Regions from separate parts of the Homo sapiens genome. Here all the other regions are linked to region 3. Evidence: promoter capture Hi-C in 16 types of primary human blood cells and fetal thymus (Javierre and others, 2016). All regions are on one chromosome and are shown on one strand. Each heading gives the region's core, a stretch centred on a gene start or on the middle of the fragment in contact. The rest is flanking DNA. Distances are from core to core; before and after follow the strand shown. Region 1 has its middle 17 kb from the start of OR4D9. Region 2 has its middle 17 kb from the start of OOSP1. Region 3 holds the start of PATL1 (PAT1 homolog 1, processing body mRNA decay factor).

The links. Contacts are between HindIII fragments. The CHiCAGO score rates a contact against its expected background, and 5 or more counts as called.
Region 1: a fragment that was not itself captured here is called in contact with the fragment with the promoter of PATL1 in region 3 in 2 of 17 cell types (activated CD4 T cells and non-activated CD4 T cells); the score reaches 5.3 in activated CD4 T cells.
Region 2: a fragment that was not itself captured here is called in contact with the fragment with the promoter of PATL1 in region 3 in 1 of 17 cell types (neutrophils); the score reaches 5.7 in neutrophils.

What each region holds. Positions count from the first base shown.
Region 1 is chr11:59,525,691-59,530,546 of GRCh38, reverse strand. No RefSeq gene overlaps it. Among named protein-coding and RNA genes, the nearest start is that of OR4D9, 17 kb to the right of the region's middle. RefSeq lists an enhancer at 1,652-2,153 and a silencer at 4,133-4,414. The HindIII fragment of the contact is 9,501 bases long and covers 1-4,856 here.
Region 2 is chr11:59,918,780-59,923,355 of GRCh38, reverse strand. No RefSeq gene overlaps it. Among named protein-coding and RNA genes, the nearest start is that of OOSP1, 17 kb to the left of the region's middle. RefSeq lists a silencer at 1,727-1,887. The HindIII fragment of the contact is 2,575 bases long and covers 1,721-4,295 here.
Region 3 is chr11:59,667,340-59,672,199 of GRCh38, reverse strand. PATL1 (PAT1 homolog 1, processing body mRNA decay factor) reads left to right here and starts at 3,163. Exons shown (of 19, transcript NM_152716.3): 1 at 3,163-3,319. The coding sequence starts at 3,305. PATL1-DT (PATL1 divergent transcript) reads right to left here and starts at 2,890. Exons shown (of 4, transcript NR_187296.1): 1 at 2,658-2,890. RefSeq lists enhancers at 2,614-2,903, 2,830-3,124 and a silencer at 3,084-3,433. The HindIII fragment of the contact is 2,400 bases long and covers 2,383-4,782 here.

The DNA of each region.
Region 1 (4,856 bases), core at 1,102-3,601, 140 kb after region 3:
GCGACAGTGCGAGACTCCATCTCAAAAAAAAAAAAAAAAAAGAAGAAAAAAAAAGTATCAATATGGATTCAACTGTTAACAAATGAGGGATAACTGTGGTGTTGGAGGGGTGAGGAGGTATATGGGAACCCTATAATTTCAGTTTAATTTTTCTGTGAATCTAAAGCTGCTTTAAGAAATAAAAGCCAGCCGGGCATGGTGGCTCACGCTTGTAGCCCCAGCAGCACTTTGGGAGGCCGAGGCAGGCGGATCACGAGGTCAGGAGATCGAGACCATTCTGGCTAACACGGTGAAACCCCGTCTGTACTAAAAATACAAAAAATTAGCCAGGCGTGGTGGCGGGCGCCTGTAGTCCCAGCTACTCGGGAGGCTGAGGCAGGAGAATGGCGTGAACCCGGGAGGCAGAGCTTGCAGTGAGCCGAGATTGTCCCACTGCACTCTAGCCTGGGCAACAGAGCGAGACTCCGTCTCAAAAAAAAAAAAAAAAAAAAAAAAGAAATAAAAGCTGTGCGTGGTGGCTCCTGCCTGTAATCCCAGCACTTTGGGAGGCCAAGGCGGGTAGATTTTCTGAGTTCAGGAGTTCCAGACCAGCCTGGGCAACATGATGAAAACTAGTCTGTATTAAAATACAAAAAATTACCTGGGCGTGGTGGTGGGCACCTGTAGTTCCAGCTACTTGGGAGGCTGAAGCACAAGAATTGCTTGCATCCGGGAGGCGGAGGTTGCACTGAGCCGAGATTGTGCCGCTGCCCTCGAGCCTGGGCGACAGAGTGAGACCATTGTTTCAAAAAAAAAAAAAAAAAAAGATATTAACTTTTAAAAAGTAGATAAGTCAAAGGATAAAACAATTAGAGTACAAAGTAAAGAAACACTCTTTTTAACTTTTATTGCCAAACATCACTTCTTGTAAATCCTAATTTAACTCCTCCTGCTTTCCACTCTGTTTTAAAAAGAACATTTAAAATAAATACCAGTTTGGGTGCTGACAGGCTTCTGGATGTCTTTTGTGTTTTGCAAACTGCTTAAAATGAAATTGCCCCTTGCTTTGCTAAAGTATAACTTATATATTATAAGCTGCACATATTTAAAGGGTACAACTTGATGAGTTTTCACACACACACACACACTTACACACACACACACCTGTGAAACTGACACTACAATTAGGATAATGAGTATCTCCATTATCCCCCAAACCTCATGCTCCTGAGAACTGCAGAACTCTCCGCATATAGCTCCGTCGAAACCCCTGAACTAGACCAAACTCTCACATGGCTTCTAGCAGCATAAGGCTGTTTCCTTAGAATGACCGCAGCCCCCCATTAAATGCCTGCTTGAGTAAGCTCAATACTGCCAGGAGAATTTACGGTTTGTTTTACCCGAACCCTGATGATAGGCCTCTGACCTCCCTTACTTAGAGCATTTACAAAAAAGGGCTTATGATTGTGAACATGCATCTCTTAGAACTCAGAAATGTCTTTCTTAAGGACCTGGGAGCCATTCCTTTGAAATGTAATTATCAAAAAGGATGAAGCCTCTGTCTTCCAGTCTCTGTGGGAGGGTGGAATCCTTTGATGATTGCCAGCTAGCAGACACAGCTGGCCTCATCGCATTGACACTGACGAACCGTTTGCAATTTTTCACTTCTCTGACTCTATTGAGACCTCACACTCGCCCATTCTTCATTCATTCTCCCTGTAAAATGCTCGAACCACCTCTGCACGAATCACAATGGAGCCCAGCTCATTCCCCTACTGTCAGTAGTTACTGAATAAAATCTGTTTTTGCCGCTTTAACTAATGTCCCACTGTGTGTATGTTTGATGTGCCTTTGTACACTTTCCCTCCATGTTCTGCCCATACTGAGGCCAATGTCTGGTCCTGCTGCTAACCGCTGAGCTCTCTGGATTTCACAGTACTTTACCTCTCATTGTTTCATCAGAGCACAACTTCTACTCAGCTAATTTACCTCCTATGATCTTCCCTTTGAAGTTCAAGCAACACAAAGCCAATTTTCTAGGCTGACTCCCAATTAATTATTAATCCATCAATAACTCAGCGAATGTCATCATTTTCAAACATTTTTCGTTTTTAAAAGGCCAGGTATTTTCTTCAGAGTAAATATTTAAAAGTATTAAGAAAAATCAGAACACAAGATAATGCATACAAGTTTTTTTTTTTTGTTTTGTTTTTTTGCTTTTGTGTTGAACTATAATCAGAAGTAATAGGGTATAGAGAAAAGACACCATCTTGGAAGTCATGAGATTTGGATGCCAACCTTGCTACATTCATAGAGCAATGGTAGAATATTTATTTTTTCGAACTCCTGCCTCAGCCTTCCAAAGCGGTGGGATTACAGGCATAAGCCACTGTGCCCTATCTTGAGAAAGATTTTTAACAAAGTGTGGAAAGAAGGGAGGTCTTTGTTAGCCTGGAGTTAGCTATAACATTCAAAGAATTAGAAATTCCCAAATGTAAAGAAGGAGCAAGCAGATTGAAATAGTCAGTTTTTTGCACCTTAAATCACAGCGGAGGGCTCCTATCCCCAGGGACGTCTGTTAGAAGGAAGCAACCTGTTAGTGCCCCTGAGGCACAAGGGCCTCTTCTTGCCATTCCAGGATCGAGTGGAAAACTGCATCTCACCCCTGCAGATGCCATTTTGAATGTAAATGTGATTTGTTTGTTAAAGAGATTACCTGGCACCAATATATTCACAGGTCAGGTTTGTCTAGAAATAAAATCTTAGTTTTGAATGTGGTTTATGCAGCACTTCACTGGTACCTGTATTATGAAATTCTAAAAAGATGAAATCTATGACAGACCTATGTTAGTACATTTGACTCAGTCCCAGGGGTTCCAGTTCTGAGGAGGCCTTGGTCTGGCTAGAGGATTAAAATTGGATTTCTCATGAGGCTAATGGAGCTTAAGCCTTGTAGCCCCTTATTTGAGGAGCCCAAGGCCCTGGGAAGTGCCCTAGCAATATGCTCACAGGGTCACATGTTTTTGTAGAGCTTGCAATAGTAAAATATTATAACCACAATCAGCTGGGGCTCCTGTTTCTTCTCTGAACTCCCTTCCATCACAATTCTTAGTTTGGTGGCTTTAGAGAGGTCACAGGCATTTTGGGGATCTAGTTAAGGTGAGGTTGAGTTAGGATACACTTATTTTGGATCTAGCAGCATGCATTTATGTGATTTGCAGTCACTTCCGTGTATTAATGTCAAGATTTTCATGGGTCAGTAAATGATAGAAGTAGGATTAAAACTGAGCTTGACATTCATATGCTTAACGATTAATCAGTAAGCCTTGGGTACCTTTGCTTAAAGGTATGCTAATGTCTTCCGAGTCAACTTCTAGCATTTGACCCCAGTTCCTACCTTCTTACCTGGCTCCAACACTTTCCTTTCCTTTCTTGGTTTTTCTTTCTTCTTTTTTGGTTACTGCCCTGCCCATACAGTGCTGTTCCTCCAAATTGAAGTTTGCTGGACCATATCTGTGCTCATGCTCTTCCTCGGCCCCAAATGCCCTCAACTAATTATATTTATGCTGGTCCTTATTCCATTTTTATTACTTTAAATTGAGATACTAGCAAAAGGCCAGGTGCAGTGGCTCAGACCTGTAACCCTAGCACTTTGGGAGGCCGAGGTGGGCGAATCACTTGAGTCAGGAGTTTGAGACCAGCCTGGCCAACATGGTGAAACCTCGTCTGTACTAAAAATCTAAAAATACAAAAATTAGCCGGGTATGGTGGCAGGCGCCTGTAATCCCAGCTTCTCGGGAGCCTGAGGCAAGAGAATTGCTTGATCCTGGGAGGCAGAGGTTACAGAGAGCCGAGATCATGCCACTGCACTCCAGCCTGGGTGACAGAGTGAAACTCTGTTTAAAACAACAACAAGGCCGGGCGCGGTGGCTCATGCCTGTAATCCTAGCACTGTGGGAGCCCGAGGTGGGTGGATCACGAAGTCAGGAGATCGAGACCACCCTGGCTAGCATGGCGAAACCCTGTCTCTACTAAAAAATACAAAAAGTAGCCAGGCATCCTGGCGCATGCCTGTAGTCCCAGCTGAGGCAGGAGAATCGCTTGAACCCGGGAGGCGGAGGTTGCAGTGAGCTGAGATTACGCCACTGCACTCCATCCTGGGCAACAGAGCGAGACTCCATCTCAAAACAAACAAACAAAACAACAACAAAATGCAATACCAGCATCAATGAAGGTAAAATAAAACTGAAAACAAGAAAGATATTGATGATTAAGGGGTTGATGAGTATCATCAATTCATGGAGTGTTTAAGATTATTCAATGCTCTGGCTGGGCTCGGTGGCTCACGCCTGTAATCCCAGCACTTTGGGAGGCCACAGCAGGCAGATTGCTTGTGGCCAGGAGTTTGAGACTAGCCTGCCCAAAATGAAAAACCCTTTCTCTACTAAAAAAGCACAAAAATTAGCCAGGCGTGGTGGCACACGCCTGTAATCCCAGCTACTCAGGAGGCTGAGGCAGGAGAGTTGTTTGAACCTGGGAGGCAGAGGTTTCAGTGAGCTGAGATCGTGTCACTGCATTCCAGCTTGGGCAACAGAGTGAGACTGTCTGAAAAAAAAAAAGCCTTAAAGTAAGTGATCAAAGGTGTTAACAGATCTCTTAGAAATAAATTAATGTTGGAGATTTCCATATTGTTTATACACATATATGTGATATATCCCATTGTTTGAATATATAACAATCTCTATATTATTCCATATTATTTGAGTATATAGGTATATTAATATACATATATATTCAATCACATCAATAACCATGTGTAATCAGAAAAAAATAGTGAAAATACTTAACAAACGGATTTCTTTTTCTTTGTCTCTTCA
Region 2 (4,576 bases), core at 1,759-4,258, 250 kb before region 3:
AAGAAGAAGTCGGTGAGGTTATACTGGAGGAAATGAAGAAAGTGTGGCAGCCTGGAAGTCAAGATAGAATACTAGTAGTGAAAATAGACAAGTGCTACTGATAGATAAAGCAAGATGAGGATTGCAAAGCAATCCCTGGACTTAGCAAATGTGGAGAGTAATTGCTGAAGCAATGTGAAGAGCAATTGCTGATTTTAATAAAAAGCAGTTTGGGTGCAGGGTGGGAGTGAAAGTCCAATTGAAATGAGTTTAAGAGAGAAGGGGAAGAAAGGAATTGGAAAGAGCATTGGCAACATTCAGAGTAGTGTAGCTATAACAGGAGGAAAGAAAGAGAGTGAGCCCAAGTAAAAGCTCACTCTCTCTCTCTACCCACTCTCCCTCCTCTTCCTCTGCCTCTCCAAACAAATCTGCCTGGTGGAAACTTTTAGGTTGGGATGTTGGTATGAAATAGAAATTTGCATGCTCATAAAAAGCATTTATCAGTTTAGTTACTGTCCCTGATTCTAATCGAGTGATACTTTGGTTACCCATTTTCTCAGTTCCCAGTGCTGAAGCAAGAATTAAACCTTTCTGGAGCCATAGCTCTAACACTCACAAGTTCCCACCTGAAACCTGCAGTCCTTCTTAAATGCTCTGTGCCAAGGGTAGTATTTCTGCTAGAGATGATACCCCAAACTCAAGGACACAGTATGCAGCTGCTGCCTGGATCTGGTCAATCAGAAACTGCATTTACTTGGAACAGACAACACTATACATGTATAGTGTTATCTCAAAGATATATTAACACTCCTACCCCCTCCCATAATATATTCCAAAGATTCCTGGGCCATGTGAACATATCAAGGAATATCACAGTGGCACACTATACTGACAATATTGTACTAACTGAGCTGGATAAGCAAGAAGTAGCTGGTACATTGGGAGAATTGGTAAGACACCTGAGTTCCAAAGAGAGGAGATAAACCCTATAAAATTTCAGAGGCCCAAACAGATTGAAATTTTTGTGTCCGGTGGTCTGGGACATGCTGGGACATTTCCTGTAAAGGACAAATAATTGTGTCTTGCATCTCCCACCATGAAGATGAAAGCATAACCCTTGTTAATATCCACCAAGGAGCATCCACCATGGAAGAATTTCTATACAAATAGGTGGACAAAATGACTTGGCCAGTTGACATTGGCCAGTTTCTGTCATTAGCCATGCCATTGTTAGCACAAGAGAACCCAAACAGAATAGCTGTGGTGGCAAGGATGGAGGCTATATCTGGCTTAATAGCATGGGTTCTGACTTAACAAAACTAATCGAGTTACCGCTGTTACCAAATGTCCAACCTGACAATAACCCTAAGTCCCTGAGATCACATATCACTGGAAGAGACCAATCAGCAACTTGGTGACAATTTGACCACATCATATGCCTACCAGGTATAGGTTTGTCTGCAGGGCCTTAGTCAACACTACTATCCAAGGGCTTAGAGTATTTAATTCACCACCAGCATGATACCAGATAACATCATGCCAGACCAATGGACTCATTTATAACAAGAAGTGCAGGGCAGGACACATGATCAAGAGTTCCACAGGTCATATCATAAACCAGACCATCCAGAAGCTGCCCACCTGATGGAGAAATGCAATGCCTATACAAGGTGCAACTAAAGTGCCAGTGCAAAGACAATTTTCCTGCTGCAAACAAGAAATATAAAAAGATTCCCAAGCTTTTTTTAAAAAGACACTGATATGGCTTGGATTTGTGGCCCTCCCAAACTCATGTCAAATTGTAATCCCCAGTGCTGGAGGAGGGGCCTGGTGGGGAGGTGATTCAATCATGGTAATGTATTTCCCCCTTGCTGCTTTCATGATAGTGAGTGAGTTCTCACAAGATCTGGTTGTTTAAAGGTGTGTAGCACCTCCCCCTTCACTCTTTCTTTCTCCTGCTCCCACCATGTAAGACATGCTTGCTTCCCCTTCGCCTTCTGCCATGATTGTAAGTTTCCTGATGCCTCCCAGCCATATTTCCTGTACTGCCTGCAGAACTTCTTTTCTTTATAAGTAACCAGTTTCAGATATGTATTTATAGTAGTGTGAGAACAGACTAATATAGACACATTACAATTGGAGAGTAATAAGAATGAAGGCTGATGTATCAGAAGGAAATAGGGAGAACAGTAGACAAAAATTCATGTTCAAAATGCTGACTTAAAAAATAACAATCTAGGCTTCAATATCCAGTGAAAATTACAATTTCTAGTGAATATAAACCGAATAAAAAAGAATAATCATATGACCACCTCAGTAGATGCCTTTTCCCAAAGGCATCATAAGATACCCAGTCATTTTTGGAGAAGGTGTTCCTAGCTATCAATGTCCTGTTTCCATACATTTTCTCCAAGAAAGCACAGCCTTGTTAAGAAACTGCAGTTTCCCAGATCACATATTTCTATGGAACTAAATTTTAAGTATGTGATATTTGTTACTGACATTTTACTATCTTAAAGGCATTTCTGTGCAAGAAAATTTTAATTTTATTTTGTTCTAATAAGTATTATATTGATGAAACATATGTAAAACTTTTTAAAGTATCTCAACCTATAAATCCTATTTTTTCAAGTATTAAAATCATTACTTTTTTTACTTTTTCTTTGATTAATGTACAATTAATCCAAGTTTACAAATGATGTCTTCCCTACTCATCTGATGCAATTTAATGTCAATATCCTCAGATATTTTAAGTATAGTTACATATTTAATATATCTGATTCTCTCAAATGTTTCAAATTTCTAACAAAGCAGACTTACTAATTAGAATAAACTCTCCCAATGACTTAAATCACACTCATAAATACAAACTGAAACTTAGATATTTAGTAGCTCAAATCCCCTTAAGCATCTTAAGTCACAGCACCCATAAAGCAGCATAGTGACTGGAAAATGTTTCACCACATCCCTATAAACACAACATGCACACTTTATACCTATTTTTTTCCACATGTTCCTGGGGTTACAAGTTTACTCAACCAAACAAGGAAAGCAAAATCATCACCTAAGTTCCAGCCAAGGTTACATTGTCAGAAACCAGGACTGGCAGTCAAAGAAGGAAGAATGCAGCAGAGGGCACCGGGGGAAGGAAGAAAGTCCATGAGAGGCACAAAAGAGAGAGATGCAATTCCTTTATTGCATGTAGAGATTATTAAACAAAGCTCTTGAAAAGAGATGCACTGCAGGAATGTAGGCATCACTTTAATTGTAAAACTGATTTTATGGTCACAAAAGCACCTACATGGAAATGAAAAAAAAATACCTTTTCAACACCCTCACCATCTAAAAGGTAAAGTACAGTATCTACAACCACTGCATGAGCATTCAGACAGCACGTAGGCCTGAGATTCCATCAGTAGTAAAATCAGCATCTCTGATGCCCAAATTCACTCTTGTTCCATTATGACTGGGGGCATATAAAATGCCATTAATACGGAACTAAAAATTAAAATTACAAATAAGCATTATATGGGTTTTAGGCTAGTTGAGATGCTAGTGACCTGGAACTGACCCAGAGACCAAAATGTAATTATAGGGCTGGATTTAGCAGCAGCAGCCTTTTCCATTTATTAACCCCTAATACTCATATGGAGCTGTCATGCCATCCCCCATCTCCAACACCCACGTGCTAATTTAGGATAATGGATTGTGGCAGAGACCTTGTTCTCTGCTAAACTGCTGTGGTTAATGGAGAGTCCAGGCCTCTAAAATAGCTTTGCCATCATACCATATCATTATAATTTCTTATTAGATAGAAACAGTTCGTTTAAACAGGACAGTCTTAGGCTTTGCCTAAAAGTTTAGTTACTAGAACACAAGAAAGTTAATGTAGGTCTTTCTCAATCCAGCTTTTCCTAGTGGCTGTTAGCCAGAAAAATATAGGCTGCACAAACATTTTAACTCTTTCTCTCTCTTTCCTTTATCTATCTGATGTGCCGACTCAGTCTTGCCTAAAGATAATAACTGCTTATCTTAGATCTGACTCATGGATGGGTCAGAATAAACTTCTAGTTTTAAGAGATACTCACAGAGAGCTGAATGGTGGCATTGCCAATTTTTTTACCTTGTTATTGTTCTTCTAATATTTAAACATGATGTCATGAGCTGCCTTCCCTGCAGATGGCACTGTTTAATGGGTTTAGAGGAAGGAAGCCACAGGGCCCTTTGGAAGGAAAAAAAAAGTCTGGGGTGAATTTTTATTCACTCATCTAACAAATATTTGAGCATCTCCTCCCATTTTTCATTGAATCTAAGCTTTAACTATACCACTATTTTTCATACGAAGATTAAGGAAACTTTATATCTTTAGGATTAAAGAAACTACCAATGAATCAGGCACATTTTACTACTTAGTCTTTGAATTTTATAAAAATTGAAAGAGCTCTTATGGACATCTTTAATCATATCACTCTTGTGCTGTATACAAAAGCAAGTGTAACAAAAAGCAAGTATAAACAAAATTAATTGGTTGAAGTAACCCTAAAATATTTTTACAGTGAGTCTCACTCTTCTAAATCACTTCTTGGATCGCAGTCAT
Region 3 (4,860 bases), core at 1,914-4,413:
CTCCCGAGTAGCTGGGACTACAGGTGGGTGCCACCATGCCTGGCTAATTTTTGTACTTTTAGTAGAGACGGGGTTCCACCGTGTTAACCAGGATGGTCTCGATCTCCTGACCTCGTGATCCGCCCGCCTCGGCCTCCCAAAGTGCTAGGATTACAGGCGTGAACCACCAGCACCCGCCTAAAAATACATTATTCTTTTAAAGGGACTTTCAATCTCCCTCACAGACAGGTGTTGTATAAGAGGAAATGGGAAATTTTGTTGATCCTGTCTATGACACTTTGTTTTCTGCTCCTTTAATTCCTGCTCTACAGCATTTCTTTCCTTGTACTTTCTTTGGGTTTATTTTATAGCTAATTTATATTCAGGCTTCCCTATTTTCGTCCTCAGTCTCCCGAGTAGCTGCTGGGACTACAGGCACAGGTGCACACCACCACGACCAGAAATAATGCAGAGCAGCTAATAAAACAACTAACCCAGCTAATTTTTGTGCTTTTTGTAGAGTCGCGGTTTCGCCATGTTGCGTAGGCTGGTCTCCAACTCCTGAGCTCATGCAATCCACCCACCACATCAGTTGTAACTATTTTCTGCTTTCCATTATTTAGTCATTGAATTGGAGGGGTTTTTTGGTTTTTGTTGTTGTTGTTGTTGTTGTTGTTGTTGTTTTTTGAGACAGAGTCTCGCTCTGTCACCCAGGCTAGAGTGCAGTGGCGCGAACTCGGCTCACCTCAAGCTCTGCCTCCTGGGTTCACCCCATTCTCCTGCCTCAGCCTCCCGAGTAGCTGGGACTACAGGCGCCCGCCACCACGCCCGGCTAATTTTTTTGTATTTTTAGTATTTTTAGTAGAGACAGGGTTTCGCCATGTTAGCCAGGATGGTCTCCATCTCCTGACCTCGTGATCTGCCCGCCTCGGGCTCCCAAAGTGCTGGGATTACAGGCGTGAGGCACCGCGCCAGGACTTTTTTTTTTCTTTTTTAATTTCTGAAAACTTAAGACTTTTTTCCTAATCTGTTTTTACTATTGATATCTTACATAATGATCAGAAAACATGATCTGCAAGATCAGGGATCAGCAAACTCTGTAAAGCGCCAAATAGTAAATATGTTACACTTTACAGGCCACACTGTATCCATTGTAACCACTCAACTCTGACTTTATAACATTAAAGCAATCAAAGACAATATGTAAATAAATAAGGTTGGCTGTATTCCAATAAAGCTTGCTTTACAAAAACGGGTGGCTGGCCAGATTGGACTGTGGGCCATAGTCTGCTAACCCTTGATCTACATGGCACCAATTCTTTGGTAATTATTAAGATGTACTGCTACTTAGTTTTTTTTGTTTGTTTGTTTGTTTTTTGTGAGACGTAGTCTTTGCTCTGTCACCCAGGCTAGAGTGCAGTGGTGCGATCTCGGCTCACTGCAAGCTCCGCCTCCCGGGTTCACGCAATTCTCCTGCCTCAGCCCCTCGAGTAGCTGGGACTACAGGCGCCCGCCACCACGCCCGGCTAATTTTTTGTATTTTTAGTAGAGACGGGGTGTCACTCTGTTAGCCAGGATGGTCTAGATCTCCTTGACCTTGTGATCCGCCCACCTCGGCCTCCCAAAGTGCTGGGATTACAGGCGTGAGCCACCGCGCCTGGCCTGTTACTTAGTATTTGATGTTTTATAATGTTCCATGCATGCTTGAAAACCAATAAATCATCTTGTCCCGACGCTCCACTTCTTTAAAGTTCAGGCCTGGCCCATGTCAACATTTGCTTTTGTTATTCTGGCACAGTGATTAAGACACTCGGTTTTTAATAATCAGACAAATCTCAGCTGCTAGCTTTACCACTTGCCATTGGGTGGTTGGAGGCAAACAATGTCGCTAATCCTCAGGTTCCTCAACTGTAAACTGAGAAAATAACAGTACCTACCTCATGGGGGGCACATAAGGAAGGATTCAATGAGATAATCCATTTTATAAAGCGCCTAGCAGAGTCCCAGGCAGCCTTCAATCGTTAGTAGTGTTACCATCATGAGGCAGGTGTAATTATACCCATTTTACAAGAAACTAAGGCTCAGAGAGGTTTAGGTAAGTTGCCCAAAGTTTCCTAGCCAGTGGCAAAGCACAAGCTCCCACCCAGAACTTTTCTTCACAAATTCAGCGTTTCCGATACTCAAACTGATCCAGACACACTAACATTTAGGGGATTTACTGTATGCCATTCCGAGACGAGGCTGCATTTTAAGACGCCCAGGGAAGAAACGGATTGCGAAACCCAAAAGAATTCATTCTTTGTGCTGCAAGTTTTGTCTGAAAGGAAAGGGGCAAGAAGGGCATGGAGCGTGCTAGAGGTAACAAACCACCCAACAGAATTCTGGAACCAGGGGGCCGAAGCTTCTAAGCTGGACACATTCCTCTGTGGGTTCGATCCTCTAAGGAAGTGGAGTCACCCAGCGGCGCACCACGGCCCGAAGACCCTGCTGCTGCGTGGCCAGCGGCCCACGGCCGTGCGGCCCTTCGAGGCTCTGCAGCTCCTCGCGCCTAATGAGCCTGGCGCTTAAAAATACCACCCTAGTTAAACCTCCCGGAACCTGTCTTCAGCATTTCAAAAAAAAAAAAAAAAAAAACGGGCGCCGTCATCACTTTGAGCCACATAAATCACAGCCCTGACCTGCTGTGGATTCAGCAGGCGACGAGCCGCTGAAAGTGGCGACGAAGTCCGCCCCTTTCGAAGACCAGCAACTTTCCATTCTTTTTTCCCTGCGCAAGGCGCAGATTGCAACGGGGAGACCCCCGAGCAGCCTGAGGAGTGAGTCGGACGTTGGAAAAACTGCCCGGGAATCTCATCTTTCCCAGCCCAGGCTAAGCGCAGGATTCTTCAAAGCTATATCCTGTGACAATCACAAGGGTTTTCTCCGCCCCACGGGTGACGGAGAACTCGTGACCGGCCCCTGAGCTCCAAGCCGAGCGCCTAGAGGGCGCGGAGAAAGAGGGGGCGGAGCTACAAGCCCAGATCACCAGGCAGCCGAAGACGGGCAGCGCGTGCGCAGTCTCTCGCCACGGGACCTCCTTCCCGCCGCTGAGACTAGGAAGCGGGACGCCAAATCTGTCCCTGCGCAGCCGCCGCCGCCGGGCGCCGAGCGGGGTGGCCGCCCTGCCTGAGGCGCGCCTGCGCACGTCCCCACGCACGCTCCGGCGTACGGCGGCGGCCAGGGGTCGCGAGCCGGTGGAGGACCCGCGCGCGGAGGAGCCGGGGAGTCAGCGCTTCTTCCCTCCCTCCCCCTCTCCCCTCCCCGCTCCCTGCCCCCCTCCCCAAGAATGTTCCGCTACGAGGTGAGCTGTTGCGACCGGAAGTGACCCCTCCCTCCCTCCCGCGCCCCTCTCCCTCACTCTCTCTCCGCGCGCCGGTCCTGTGTTCCTGCGGGGCAGGGGGCGGGCTGGGGGAGTCGCAGGACTTAGCTGGACGCGACTGGTCTGGGGTCGCGGGTCTAATCCTAGGGCTGGGAGCTGGCTTCATGGGTCGAGACAGTCCCATTAGTTGCCGCTGGGGAAAGTTGGCCTCCGTTTTGGGGTGGGGAGGGCCCGTTAAGTGCTGTAACCAGACCACACCCCCGCCCCCACCCCTAGAGGAGCCACGGAGGGTAGAGCACTGCATCTCCCCGGGTGCTTTTCTTAAGTAGGTGTCACCCGGGAATTCCCAGAGCCGCGTTTCCCGCCCTGGACCCGGAACCACCCCCCACCCACCTCCACTCGAATTACACTGACACACATCCCATTCACACAGGCTACCTTCAGGTGAAGGGGGCCTGGGCTTGCCGTTGGATTAGGGCCCCAGCCCGTTTACTAAAGAGGGCTCCGAGTTGGGAGGGGGGCGTGTCCTGCAGAAGTTCCTTCTGGGCTAGTGCTGGGAGACGCGGGTTTGGAGAAGGTGCCGGGAATGTAGCAATAGCAGCAGACAGTACTGACCCTGTCACCAACTCACTGTGTGACCTTGAGTGACTCCTAATCTCTGGACGTAAACTTTCTGAATTTGTAGCATGAAAGAACTGATGTAAATGATCCTTAAGAATTTTTAATTTAAAAAAGCAGCGATTTGGTAAAGTAGATATTTGTGATTTGGAAGGGAGTACTGCTGGAAGTTGCCTCTGATAAGGAGGCAGTGGCATGCCTATTGGCATGAGTTTGGAAGGGCTCTGGGGTAAGAAGAACGCCCTTTGACCTAATCTTTCCATTGTAAACAGGGTAGCTAAGAGGTAGCCAGGCAAGGTGTATCACAAACGTACCTACTGATAGAATATGGAATTCTGATTCTGAATTTTTGAAAATTGAGGACAGGTATACTTGATAGGAATGATCTAAGACCAAACCAAAAGGAAAACTTGGAGAATAAATCAGTTGAGTAAGATTGAAGTAAAGGGGGAAAATAGAACACACCTAGGATGTGGTGGCCTCTAGCCTTTGTTCGATAATCTGTAATCTTTGCCCACTTTGATCATCACAACTCTCTGCCATAGTTGGTATTGTCCCTGCATTACAATGTAAGACATTGAGCCTTACAGCCTAGCACAGAACCTTAGACGCAATAGGTCCTTAAAAGGTATTTGATGAATTAATTAGAAATTTTCTGAGTTGCCCATGTTCACACTGATTGTAGGAATGGAGCCAGAACTTGAACTTGTCATACCACAGCTTTTCCAGAGTTCATTTTATTGTGGTTGAAGACCTAATTTTCTGTTTCATCACTAGAGTTTAGGCCTATAGGGAAGATAAGAAAGATGGAAAATGAAGACAAAGCTTTAAAACGGAATAATAGTTGAAAAGATGACATGAATATAATGAGAAAGATGAGAATTTTGCTGGAAAAGATACATAAA